Regions from separate parts of the Homo sapiens genome. Here region 1 is linked to region 2. Evidence: promoter capture Hi-C in 16 types of primary human blood cells and fetal thymus (Javierre and others, 2016). All regions are on one chromosome and are shown on one strand. Each heading gives the region's core, a stretch centred on a gene start or on the middle of the fragment in contact. The rest is flanking DNA. Distances are from core to core; before and after follow the strand shown.

Evidence for each region. Contacts are between HindIII fragments. The CHiCAGO score rates a contact against its expected background, and 5 or more counts as called.
Region 1: a fragment that was not itself captured here is called in contact with the fragment with the promoter of BTK in region 2 in 2 of 17 cell types (M0 macrophages and M1 macrophages); the score reaches 6.9 in M0 macrophages.

The regions. Positions count from the first base shown.
Region 1 is chrX:101,637,111-101,642,986 of GRCh38, forward strand. No RefSeq gene overlaps it. Among named protein-coding and RNA genes, the nearest start is that of ARMCX3, 17 kb to the left of the region's middle. The HindIII fragment of the contact is 5,736 bases long and covers 1,262-5,876 here.
Region 2 is chrX:101,381,404-101,387,740 of GRCh38, forward strand. It overlaps BTK (Bruton tyrosine kinase), which reads right to left and starts at 4,788. Exons shown (of 19, transcript NM_000061.3): 1 at 4,659-4,788. RefSeq lists an enhancer at 4,055-4,274. The HindIII fragment of the contact is 7,609 bases long and covers 3,622-6,337 here.

The DNA of each region.
Region 1 (5,876 bases), core at 2,880-5,379, 260 kb after region 2:
GACGATTAAGCTGGGTAGAGATTGTGGCTTGACTAACAGCTGATACCATTTCTCAATGGGATCATTTTGTATATGTCCCCAAGAGAAACCTCTGAATAGTCAGAAGGAAGAAAATGTGCAATGATTTACGAAGGAATGGGATGACAGATACAGAAAACTGTTAAACATTGTCACGTACCCTCTGACTGAAATCCTGGAAAGAGAGTGCTATATCCTCCTTTCCTTGAAGACAGTTTCTTACTTTTTCTTAAAAAAAGATTTACCATTTCACTAGAGATTGTAAATATTTACACATGTGCATATATGACAGAATAGTATGTTTTATAAACTTATGTTCTTCTGTTTCCCACAATATTTCTTACTTTTCCATTTTCCCATTCCTTGTTTCAGGAAAGGTTTATGGAAGGGCTTTTCGATTTCCCAAAGCCTAAACACATGAAAATATAGTGTTAGGTATAGTTGGTGCTCTTCCCTAAGATGTATCAAGCTATGGCTTTACTTCTATTTATGCTGCTTAAGGATTCATGTCTAGCATCAGTTGTTGAAAAATTCACGCCACTATCTCTTCAAATATTGTCCCTTCCTCATTCTCTCTAGACTCTCTTTATGGACTTCGTTCTAGGTATATTTTGAAACTTTCCCTTTTTCTGCCATGTCTTCTAGCTTCTCATATTTTGTACTGTTTTATCTTTGTGTGCTGCATTCTGGGTGATTTATTGAGATCTATATTTGAATGTCCTAATTTTCTCCTTGCCTTTGTCTCTGCTAAGGCTATAAAAGTTTCACCAGTTCCAGATTAATTTTTATATTAGTGTATGTCCCTTGAATTCTCTCACATGTACAGATTATGAATTCGGCCTATGAATGGAGCTGGCCTGGATTTTGATTGCTCCCAGGGGGCTCTGTATCCACCCATGACCTCACATAAAAGATGAGCTTTCTTCTCATGTATCTTTGCTGTGGGATAAAGTTTTCTAGTTATCATTTCATGTACTGGTTGTGTTTCTGTGGGGCCTAGATTTAGATTGGAGCTCAGTACCAGCTTCCCATCTTCCACTGCCTAGAGGCATTGTTTTCTGTCCCTATGTGGGATTAAATCCTGGTCTCTAGATCTTAAAGCCGATAGCCGTCTGTCTTTATCTCCCGCTCCTTGCTAGCTCCTTCTTTGTTTCTTGGAGATTTCCATTTCATGATGATGAACTTGACTATTTACTGTTTTTAGCATTCTATCACATCTGTGAGTTTCGAGTGGGAAGGGGGAAGCTTTCCAACTCACTTCAGTCTGCTGTTGACTGGAAGTTCGCTGGACAGTTTTGTTGGATTAAATTGTGTAGGTGACATGTCATACCTGTTAAGAGATACCTGAAGCATTGCTGCTTTACATTGCTTCCAGACATATAGTATAGAGTCTAACGAAGTTTTCTGTATCTCAGCATAGCAAAGGCAGGGAAGCAACACAGAAAGTCTTGATCATTCAAGGTCGACACAAGCAAAATAGAGAGCTACAATATTTGAAGAGGTCCTGAGGAAGGAATGAAAATGGTGAATTATGTAGAGCAGTATTACTAGAATCATGTGGACCTCCTCCAACAACTCTAAGGTGCTTTGTAAGCATCTTTGATCTTAGACACACCACGGAAAATGCAGCAGATCCTAAATTGATTCCATTTCAGCACAACAATGGGATGAGAAGACAAAATATAAATTATGAGTATTGCTATAGAAAATAAAAGCTGGATGTTTTATACACTTGGGTTTGTGGACTGTGATTTATTCCAATTACACATATGTGTTAGCTATGGCATTCTGCAGGATGTATGATTACCAGACATTTATATTATCCTCTTTGCCTAGTAATTATACTTTTCCTTATTTCCTCTCAAATTTTACTTCCTTAGGGAAGTTTTCTTTGTTCCCTTTTTAGCCCCTCAGAGTATGTCTTGATCTGCAGCAATATACTCATATACATACCTGTGTTCCATTCCTTCTTTGTATTTATGTGGAATTATAATTATCCATACACTCATGTGATTATTTGATTAATGTATATACCCCACTAATCTGTGAGCTTCATGAATACAAAGACCTAGTCTGTTTTTCCTACCATTGTATTCTCAATGCCTTGCATAGGTGCTCAATAGAGACTTATTAAGTGAATGAATGAATACAATACATTTCTGCGTTGTTTGACATTTTTACAATGACTATATTAGTTTTACTATTAAAAAATGAAAATCATCCTATTTAGAACAAATATAAACATAGACCTTCTGGGCCAGTGGTTTTTAATATATTTAGGGTTATACTTCCCATTAAAAACATGTTAATAATTATAGCTTATAGCCGCTCACCTGGAAAACTTATATGCACCTTCCCCTCACTCCCAATACACAACCTTGTATACAATTTCCAGGAGTTTATAGACTTATCCAGTTGAGAACACCTGGTCTAGGTTAATCAGTATGGTCAGTAGGTGAGAGTTTCTTGGACACTGTCCTTAGCCTGGCTGAAGGGCCACTAGGGAGGAAGGTGACTGAAAGGCAGCAAAGCTAGGTTCCCTAGATTCCCTGGAGATGCAGATTTTGGGCATGAAAGGCCCACCAGACTGCACTGCTCATGATAGGTGGGAGGCAGCAGATAGGGTCCAGGGAGGCTTCCACTCAGACACTGTGAATAAGGGCAGAGAGCAGGGAGATGGCTAGGGACACTCCCCCAGCAATCACTTCTCCAGGCCTCATGGACACCCTCAGCTGCAAGGGTCTAGAAGGCATGAGTTCTGGTTTCCAGTGGCAGGAACAGTGCTCCCTTCTCTGCTGGGGCTGGGTTACCCCTGTGGAAATTTAGGAGAGGGAGGAGGGAAGGATCCAAAAGCATTTACTCAGGTCACCACCTTGGTCATCTGTCCAGGTATATTTTTGGAGTGAGCAAGAGTCAGGTGCCCATATGCAGGAAATGAGACGTTCTGAAATATGAGAGGGGATGGGGGCAGCACCTTCCCCCTATCTTGACTGGGCAGAAAGGATAGGACCATCTCTGCATTCCTCATACCTTGCAGCATCAATCTCACAGCTCTTCCCTTTGCTCAGAGTTAAATTTCATTGTTTAGAAGGATTCAGTCTAATCCTTCTAAATACCTTATCAAAAACCTTACCAATCACCTTATCAAATACCTTAGCATGTTTATAAACTCTTCTTGTGCAGAAAAGCAATACATTCATAAAACGTAATTGTGCTAAGGCACTTCCTCCCTCTTAAATTGGACTTTTTTTTTTTTTTTTTTTTTTTTTTTTTTTTTTTTTAGACTGAGTCTCCCTCACTCTTACCCAGGCTAGAGTACAGTGGTGCCATTTTGGCTCACTGCAAACTCCACCTCCTAGGTTCAAGCGATTCTCCTGCCTCAGCCTAATGAGTAGCTGGGATTACAGGTGTGCACTGCTATCCCCGGATAATTTTTGTATATTTACTAGAGACAGGGTTTCGCCATGTGGGCCAGGCTGCTCTCGAACTCCTGGCCTCAAGTGATCCACCTGCCTTGGCCTTCCAAAGTGCTGGGATTACAGGTGTGAGTTACCGCACCTGGCCAGAAATATTTTTTATGATAGATTTTTCCCAGATTAATTCCTCATTAATTTTTCAGTGACCATAACTTCATTTTTTTTCTGATTGTAAAAATGATTGCATACTGACGCTTTTTTTTTTTTGATGGAGTCTCTCGCTCTGTCACCTAGGCTGGAGTGAATTGGCACGATCTAGGCTTACGGCAACCTCCGCCTCCAGGGTTCAAGCGATTCTCCTGCCTCAGCCTCCTGAGTAGCTGGGACTACAGGCGTGTGCCACCCCGCCCAGCTAATTTTTATATTTTTAGTAGAGGTGGAGTTTCACCATGCTAGCCAGGCTGGTCTTGAACTCCTGACTTCAGGTGATCTGCCCGCCTTGGCCTCCCAAAGTGTTGAGACTACAGGCATGAGCCACCGCGCCTGGCCACTGATGCTTATTTTTTAAGGCGGTAATAGTACATGAGGAAGTGAAAATATGAGGAAGTACAAATCTCATGTTCATTCCCTGCCTCTGTTACTGACATGCTGTCCATTTTCTAATTCTAATCCCTGCCTGCCTCTCCGCCCTCACGTTTTGGGGGATGGACACAGTTGCAGGGGAAATGGAAGACATTACTGATCGTGGACATCGAGGGTGGAGAGAGAAACTTGGGCATCAAACTAGCCCTGAGAACTGTACCAATGAGGTTGAAAACATTTGTAAACCATTGCCTAGTAAAAGCAGTCACTGAGATCAGCGTTTTGGATGATTAATATCTCTTAAAAACATTTTATAATTCCCTCAACAAAGCTCTTGCAAACTGTGGTAGAGGCTGTTAGTGCTCTCCAATATCCATGTTTTCTGCCCACTCCTTGGAATCCAGCTAGATTGGTCAATAGTGGCCTAGCTATAGTGGTCAACGTCCCCTATGATTGGGTGCAACCATGAGACTGAGTTCTGGCCAATGGATTGTGGCAGGAGTGATGTGTTCCAGATTTTGCCTCATGAAACTTCCTCATGCTTGACTTGTGCTCTCTCTTTTCCTATCTACCCGCTGAATGGAGATAACTTTGAGTACCTAGAGAAGGATGGAGCTACAAGATGGAATGAGCCTGGGACCCTGAATGGCCACGTGTAGCAGAGCCTCTCTGCTGACCTGGAACATTAACCTCAGACTCTTTTGGTAATGAAAATATATTTTTTAAGTCATACAATTTTTGAGTTTTTCATTACAGCAGTTTAGACTTTTATACTACTACAACATTAATGGATTTCTGTCCTTCCTTTTTTTTTGGACCTTAGGTGATGAGGATTATACTAACCATATTCTTCCCTTCGTAGCATACCATCTGCATTGGTCTAATCAAAACCCATTTTCTTTCCTTTATTAATTCATTTACTACTTTATTTGTTTCCTTTCTTCTCTATTCTTTACTTCCATCTCCTCCCCAAAGGCAACCTTCTAATTTATTTGATGTGTATGTTTGTTTGAGTTATTTTAAAACTTACATTACTTTGTATGCATGGATTTAGATAGTAGTATGGTGCTGTGGATCTTATTCTGGCTTTTTTCCCCACTCAGTAATATTTTTTTAAAGATCCATCTATGTCACTCTGTGTACATGGTCTGTAGTTTCACACTGTTGCATAATGTACCATGGTATTCATCCACTCCAATTTACTTCCTCATTTTCCAGGAAATAAAATCTATACTGCTTCCAACTTTCTGTTACCTCATACATTGTGATGAACGTCCTCATGCATGTCCCCTTATGGACCTACATGAAAAGTGTTCTGGAATATATATAAAATGAATGGAATTGTTGAGTCATAGGGCATATGTATAATTCATTTATGTATGTCAGATTGCTCTTTGGAATAGCAGCTCCAGTCTAAACTCTAATCAGCTGTGTGCATTAGAATTCCTCTATCTTTGTACCCTCACTAACAATCGGCAGGTCCCAGCTTTAAAATTTTTGCCAGCCAAATAGGTATAAACGGATTTATAACTGAATTTTAATTAGCAATTAACTGGTTAATAATGAGTTTGAACATCTCTTCATTTATTTCTGAGCATTTTGGTTTTCATCTCCTCTGGGTATATTTGTCATGTTTTGTCAGTTTATTTTATTTTACTTTATTTTACTTTTTGAGATAGGGTCTCACTCTGTCACCCAGGCTGGAGTGCAGTGGCACAAACATGGCTCACTGCAGTCTTGACCTCCTGGGCTCAAGCGATTCTTCTGCCTAGCTGCTCCAAGTAGCTGGAACCAGAGGCATGCACCATCACATTCAGCTAATTTTTTAAAATAGGTTTTTTTTTTTTTTTTTTTTTTTTT
Region 2 (6,337 bases), core at 3,538-6,037:
GAAATGTGGTAGAATTATCAACTATCTCTAGTGGGAGGTTAAATTTGGCCTACGGAAAATCTCTTCCCAGTCCCAAGAAGCATCCTTCACGTTCTAACTGAGATTTCAATTGAGAATTCCTTGGCCTTGGGACCAGAAGAGAACGTGTTAAGAACTGAAATACTATCTATATAATCAAGACCCCTTTATGTACTCCAAAATCTTAGTCTTCTCCCTCCTTAGAGATTACCAATATCTTGAATTTGGTGTTTATCATTCCTAGGTACGTTTTCATATTATCATTACAGATGTAAATATCTATAAAAGATATACAGTATTGGTTTACATGTTTAAAATTTACATATGGCCACGTGTGGTAGCTCATGCCTGTAATCCCAGCACTTTGGGAGGCTGAGGCGGCTGGATGGCAAGGTCAGGAGTTTGAGAGCAGCCAGCCTGACCAACATGGAGAAACCCTGTCTCTACTAAAAATACAAAAATTAGCCTGGCGTGGTGGCGCGCACCTGTAATCCCAGTTACTCAGGAGGCTGAGGCAGGAGAATTGCTTGAACCCAGGAGGCGGAGGTTGCAGTGAGCCGAGATCGTGCCACTGCACTCCAGCCTGGGTGACAGAGTCAGACTCCGTCTCAAAAAAAAAAAAAAAGAAAAAAGAAAAAAAAATCATACCCACAGCAACAAAGCAACCTTTAATCTTGTTAAATTCCCAAGATGCTTTTGTTCGGGCCCCAGTGAAACCCAATTATTTTATGATAAGCTTCATAGTCAAGGCTACAGGGGACCAAATTTGTGATGAAGGCATCAAGCCAAACTCAATTTTCGAAAGCTGCATGCTGACCAGGGAAACTCTCCTGCTGTAGTCATTTACAGGAGGCCTTAGGGCTCTCTGGTTCTTCCACAGCAGTTCATGTTTTATTTATTTATTTATTTATTTATTTATTTTTGAGACAGAGTCTCGCTCTGTCATCCAGGCTTCGGTACAGTAGCGCAATCTTGGCTCACTGCAATCGCTACCTCCCAGTTTCAAGCAATTCTCTTGCCTCAGCCTCCTGAGTAGCTTGGACTACAGCCGCACACCATGACACCTGCCTCGGCCTCCCAAAATGCTGGGATTACAGGCTTGAGCCACCGCGCCTGGCCTTATGTTTTTAGCATTTTACATTTTTCTTCTGTGGTTTTGGAAACTTCTAGGTCTCTGTGATTCATCATCTCTTTTTGTCTTGCATTAGCGACAATATATTCTGGCCAACTGATGATGGAAGGAGAGCCAGAGAGCCAATCTGCAAGTTTATAGTCAGTGCCAGATCAGATCAGTGGTAATACTTTCAATATTCTCCCTCTGCTCTGAGGGTGACTGCTGGGGTGTCTGTCTTTCACTCTGGACTTGTGTGCCCTTTTGGCCTTCTTTTTCAACCTAGTTTTTGTTTTCCTTGGCTTAAACATTTTATTTATTTTTTCCATCGATATCAAAATAACACACGCAGCTGGGTGCAGTGGGGTGCACCTGTAGTCCCAGCTACTCAGGAGGCTGATATTGGAGGATTGCTTGAGCCCAAGAGTTCAAGGTCAGCCTGAGAAACATAGGGAGACCCCCATCTCAAAATAAAACAAAATATAGTAAAATAAAACATGCTTATTGTAGAAAATATGTCAAGTACAGGGATATAAAAAAGAAAAAATCATTCATAAACTCATCCAGAGGCATTAATATATCGGCATATTCCTTCCATTTTTTTCTGTGTGTGTTTCTTATAATATTTGAGATCATATTGCACATTCAGTTAATTTACCTATTTTTCGTAACATCTATGTATGTATGTATGCATGTATGTATGTATCTATCCATCCATCCATCCGTTCAAGGTACCTTTTTCCAAAAAAAGATCTAATGTTCTTATTTAACATTATTCCTAATTATTTTCCCATGTTATTAGGATCTCTATACAAGCATCATTTCCAGAGTCAAAAAAGTATGTGCATTTTGCATTTTGATACATACTGCCAAAATAGTTTCCAGAAACATTGTCCCAATTTCAGTTCCAAATAGTTTTAGAGAGCCCCCTTTCTCATTATCCTTATCTCTTTTCTGGTCCATTTCTAATCATTTTTAAAACTCTGGTTTTACTGCAGACAAATCTTTTTTTTTTTTCATTGAGTCAATGATCTTAAACTCCAGTATATTCCAACTTCCAGCTTGTCTAAAACTTAACTTCTCTTGACTCTAGAATTTCCTTCTTCTAGGGTGAGCTAACAGACTACAGTTTGTTTTCAGTTCAGGGAGGTAGGGCAGTGAGAGGAGCTTCTCCTTGAGATTCAAATAACCAATATAATCCTAAAGACATCTTGTGAGAACTTTCTAAGAGCGGAGAGAAGAGCCTGGTATTAAAGCTTCTGGGTTTCCAATGCTCTCAGATTGCCCTCAGCCACTGCACATGAATCTCCATAGAAACTGAAAGTCACACGTGGCCCAATTGTTTCAGGGTCCTCAGAGGAGTTCTCCCTCCTCCTTCCCCTCCCCAGATGGCTTCATGCATAACCAAGTAGCTTTGGAGTCAAATATGTCAAGGCCTCTTTTCTAGCTTCTTGCTGAGCACTGTGTCACTGAAAATTCTAGTTCTTCCTTATTTTCAGTAGTTAGCAATCAGATCTCAGCAATCAGATCATTGTGGGTGTAGAAGGGGGTATCTGATAACTCTTTGGAGAACGCCCAAACTTTGGTTTTCGAAAGCTGTATCTTCCCTTTATACCTAAGTCACTTCCTGATATGGGTCTAGTCCACTGAAAGGAAACTCTATAGGAAATTTGCTCAAATGGAAATAGCAAATCATAGTGATAATTTAAAATTGCACCAATCCCCCATAACTGGATGGAAAGTTACATTAGTTCGCACCATAAGGAGTTTACAAAGAATTCCAGGGTGGGTGCGGTGGCTCACGCCTGTAATCCTAGCACTTTGGGAGGCCCAAGCAGGCAGATCACCTGAGGTTGGGAGTTCGAGACCAGCCTGACCAACATGGAGAAACCCCGTCTCTACTAGAAATACAAAATTAGCTGGGCGTGGTGGCACATGCCTGTAATCCCAGCTACTTGGGAGGCTGAGGCAGGAGAATTGTTTGAACCCGGGAGGCGGAGGTTGCGGTGAGCTGAGATCCCGAGATCGTGCCATTGCACTCCAGCCTGGGCAGCAAGAGTGAAACTCCGTGTCAAAAAAAAAAAAAAAAAATTCCAAACAAAAATATCAATAGCCATACGCAATGGAAATTTGGACTTCAACACAAGCAAGCAGTTTAAATAGTTTGAATATAAAAGGAGTCAGAATAGACAGGACAAGCCCTAAGGGACACTGTTTGGGTATAATGCTTTAGGTTGCCATGAGTATTTGCATTTTGTGGCTTATTTGGAAAGTGACATTATTTTATCAAATAACTGAGGCTCCAGAGAGGCTGGAGTCTGGGCAACTTATCCAAGGATGTCTTGATTGGGGTCACCAATCACTTTTATTCTAAATGTCATATTATTTGCTCTAGGTAGGCCCTCTGGGGGACATTGGCAGGTCTGAGGCAGAGTAAAAATTATAGCAAATACTGAGATCCAGCACTTACTATTGCCAGGCCCTGTTTTAAAAGCTTTACATGTATTTGCACATTTACTGCTCACAACCACCTTATGGGGAAGGTGCTAGGCAGGCAGGGAGGAGGAAATGGAAAGGGAAAGGAAAAGGGAAAAGAGCGGGGGAAGAAAGGAGCAAGAAAAAGTCAATGCAATTCGGCAATTATTTGTTAAGTGCTAACTGTATGTCAGGGTCTGGTAATCAACAGAACAGAGGAGGGTATAATGAAGAGGGGATATAGGTAGAGAAAAGAGGATGAGTGGGAAGAGGAGGAGGTTGGAGAGGAGGAAAGGAAAGGAGAAATAATGAAGACAAGAGAAAAGCAAGCCATGCACATGGAGGGCAATGGTAAGAGGAGAAACCTTTGCCACAACCTCAAGGGTTGGCCGCACTGTCTGGGCTGAGGCAGAGGCTGCTTTCTCCTGGCCCAGTCTTTTACCCATTGTTACCACGAGGTTGGCACAGCTTCCACACAGTCCTTTAATAAGCCAGCTCTGACCCTGGCGACATTTGGCCTGGTACAGCTCAAGGCAGGTAGCCTACACCCTGGCCTAGCCAGGCCTTTCCCTAGCTCACAAAGGTCAACTTCATAACGTGGAGCGTGAGCTTTTACCATGTTCTCAGAGAATCTGCCTCTTAGTATTTCTTTTTCTAAAGGCTTCATTGACCCATGTATCCCTATTGAGTCTTCAAGCACTATTTGACAGAAGGGCTTGTTTTTATCTGACTGCTCCCTGCAATATTACTTTTCCACTAAGTTTGCCAGAGGTACCCCTTTCTAACATTTGCTACCTGTTCGGATGGTCACCTCATGTCACATTTTTCTCTTCCTGTTCCGCCCACCCTCAGCCCTTGTCGGAAAGGACCCTTTCGGCCTCTCTAATCACCAGAAGGGACTGCCAGGGCCTTGTGCTGATGACACTCCCACCCTCCGTCAGCCTCCTCCACTAGCTGATAAATGGCACCAGCCATGCTGTCTCTCTGGTTTTTAGGGGTCCCAAGCAAGGTACATTGCTGCTGCTGCCCAGCCCCTGCCATACCCCAGACCCACCTCAGTCCTGACTTAATGCAGGTAGCTTCCCAGATGCATTGAGATGCCAGGACTTGGAAGGTGGGACTCGATCGCAGCAGACACTGGCCCTGGAGACATATTCTTACAGTCCAGAGAGGAAGGACAGTCTGAGCAAACCCCACCCTTTCACAGCCACTCAGTTCCCTTTTTTTGCTTCCTGACCTAAACCAATGTCTTTTTTTCTTCTCAGCAGCATGCTATCTGGTTCCCTGCTGCCGTCCCTATTCCACCCCCTCAACTGTCCCCGCCCTTCATTTGCTTGGGACCTCTGACACTACTATCTTGAGTCTATCTTTGAAAGAACCTTTCTCAACATGACTGGGGCCACTGAGACTCTAGATGGGGCTGGCCTGAGCAGACAGGTCATCAAGCTATCCTCCCAGAGGTAAAGGGACAACATACCTAAAGTACTATGAAGACAGTCAGCACAGGGAGAGGGGCTTACAGGAAAGAGGAGAGATGCTGGGGGCTGGCAGACACAGAGCAAAGAGACTGGCCAGGAAGAGCGTTTTTCGAGTCTCCTGTCCTCCGGGGCAGAGGAGTCTCAGGGACACACAGTTGAACTTGATAGTGAAGGGACCCCAAAGGACAAAACAAGACAGAGGTAGAGACAAGACTTCCCCGTGCTGAGTCATTTTCTAAGAAAGCATTTTTCCCCTACAGATAAAAATGTCGGAATATAAGCCCACAGAAATACTTGTGCCCTTCCCCATTTTCTGTGGATGTTGACTTTCTCCATTTAAGATTTGGCCTCAGGGATTAACTCTCAATGTCCACCTTTCTCTTGAGTCCTGTAAACCGGTAAAGCAGACTAGGTATGTCACTTGAAGCCTGGAGGTTTTCTCAGGGGCCCCCTACATTATGCTCCAACTGCAATGATTCCCCCAGGGATTCTCCTAGGAAATGCAGCCAGTATTGAATGCAGACCATGATGGTGGAGCCCCTGCTGACTGATCTGCCTGCCCACCTTGACACCTCGGGCACTGCCATATTTCCTTGCCCCAAGGCACTGTATCCTAATGTAGAAACAGATCACAGGTCCCACTACAATTTCATCCGAAGTTTTAAGTCAACAGGACCTTATTTTTTTTTCTTTATTTTGTCTAAAAAACAAACAAACAAGCAAACAAAAAAAATGGGGTATATGTGCAGAAGGTGCAAGTTTGTTACATAGGTATATGTGTGACATGGTGATTTGCTGCACCTATTGACCCATCCTCTAAGATCCCTCCCCTCACCCCCAAGCCCCAACAGGCCCTGGGACCTTTTTTTTTTTTTTTTTTTTTTGAGACAGGGTCTTGCTCTGAAGCCCAGGTTGGAGTGCAGTGGCGTGATCATGGCTCACTGCAGCCTCCACCTCCTGGGCTCAAGTGATCCTCTCACCTCAGTCACCCTAGTACCTGGGACTATAGGCACACATCACTGTGCTGGGCTAATTTTTCTACTTTTTGTAGAGATGGGGTTTCACTATGTTGCCCAGGCTGGTCTCAAACTCCTGGGCTCAAGCGATACTCCTGCCTTGGCCTCCCAAAATGCAGGGATTACAGGAGTGAGCCACCTCTCCCAGCCATCAACAGGACTTTAAATAAAAACATTTAAAGTATTTGTAGACTGATGATAGAGTGGTTGATACTCACATTTGCACAAGACAGATGGAC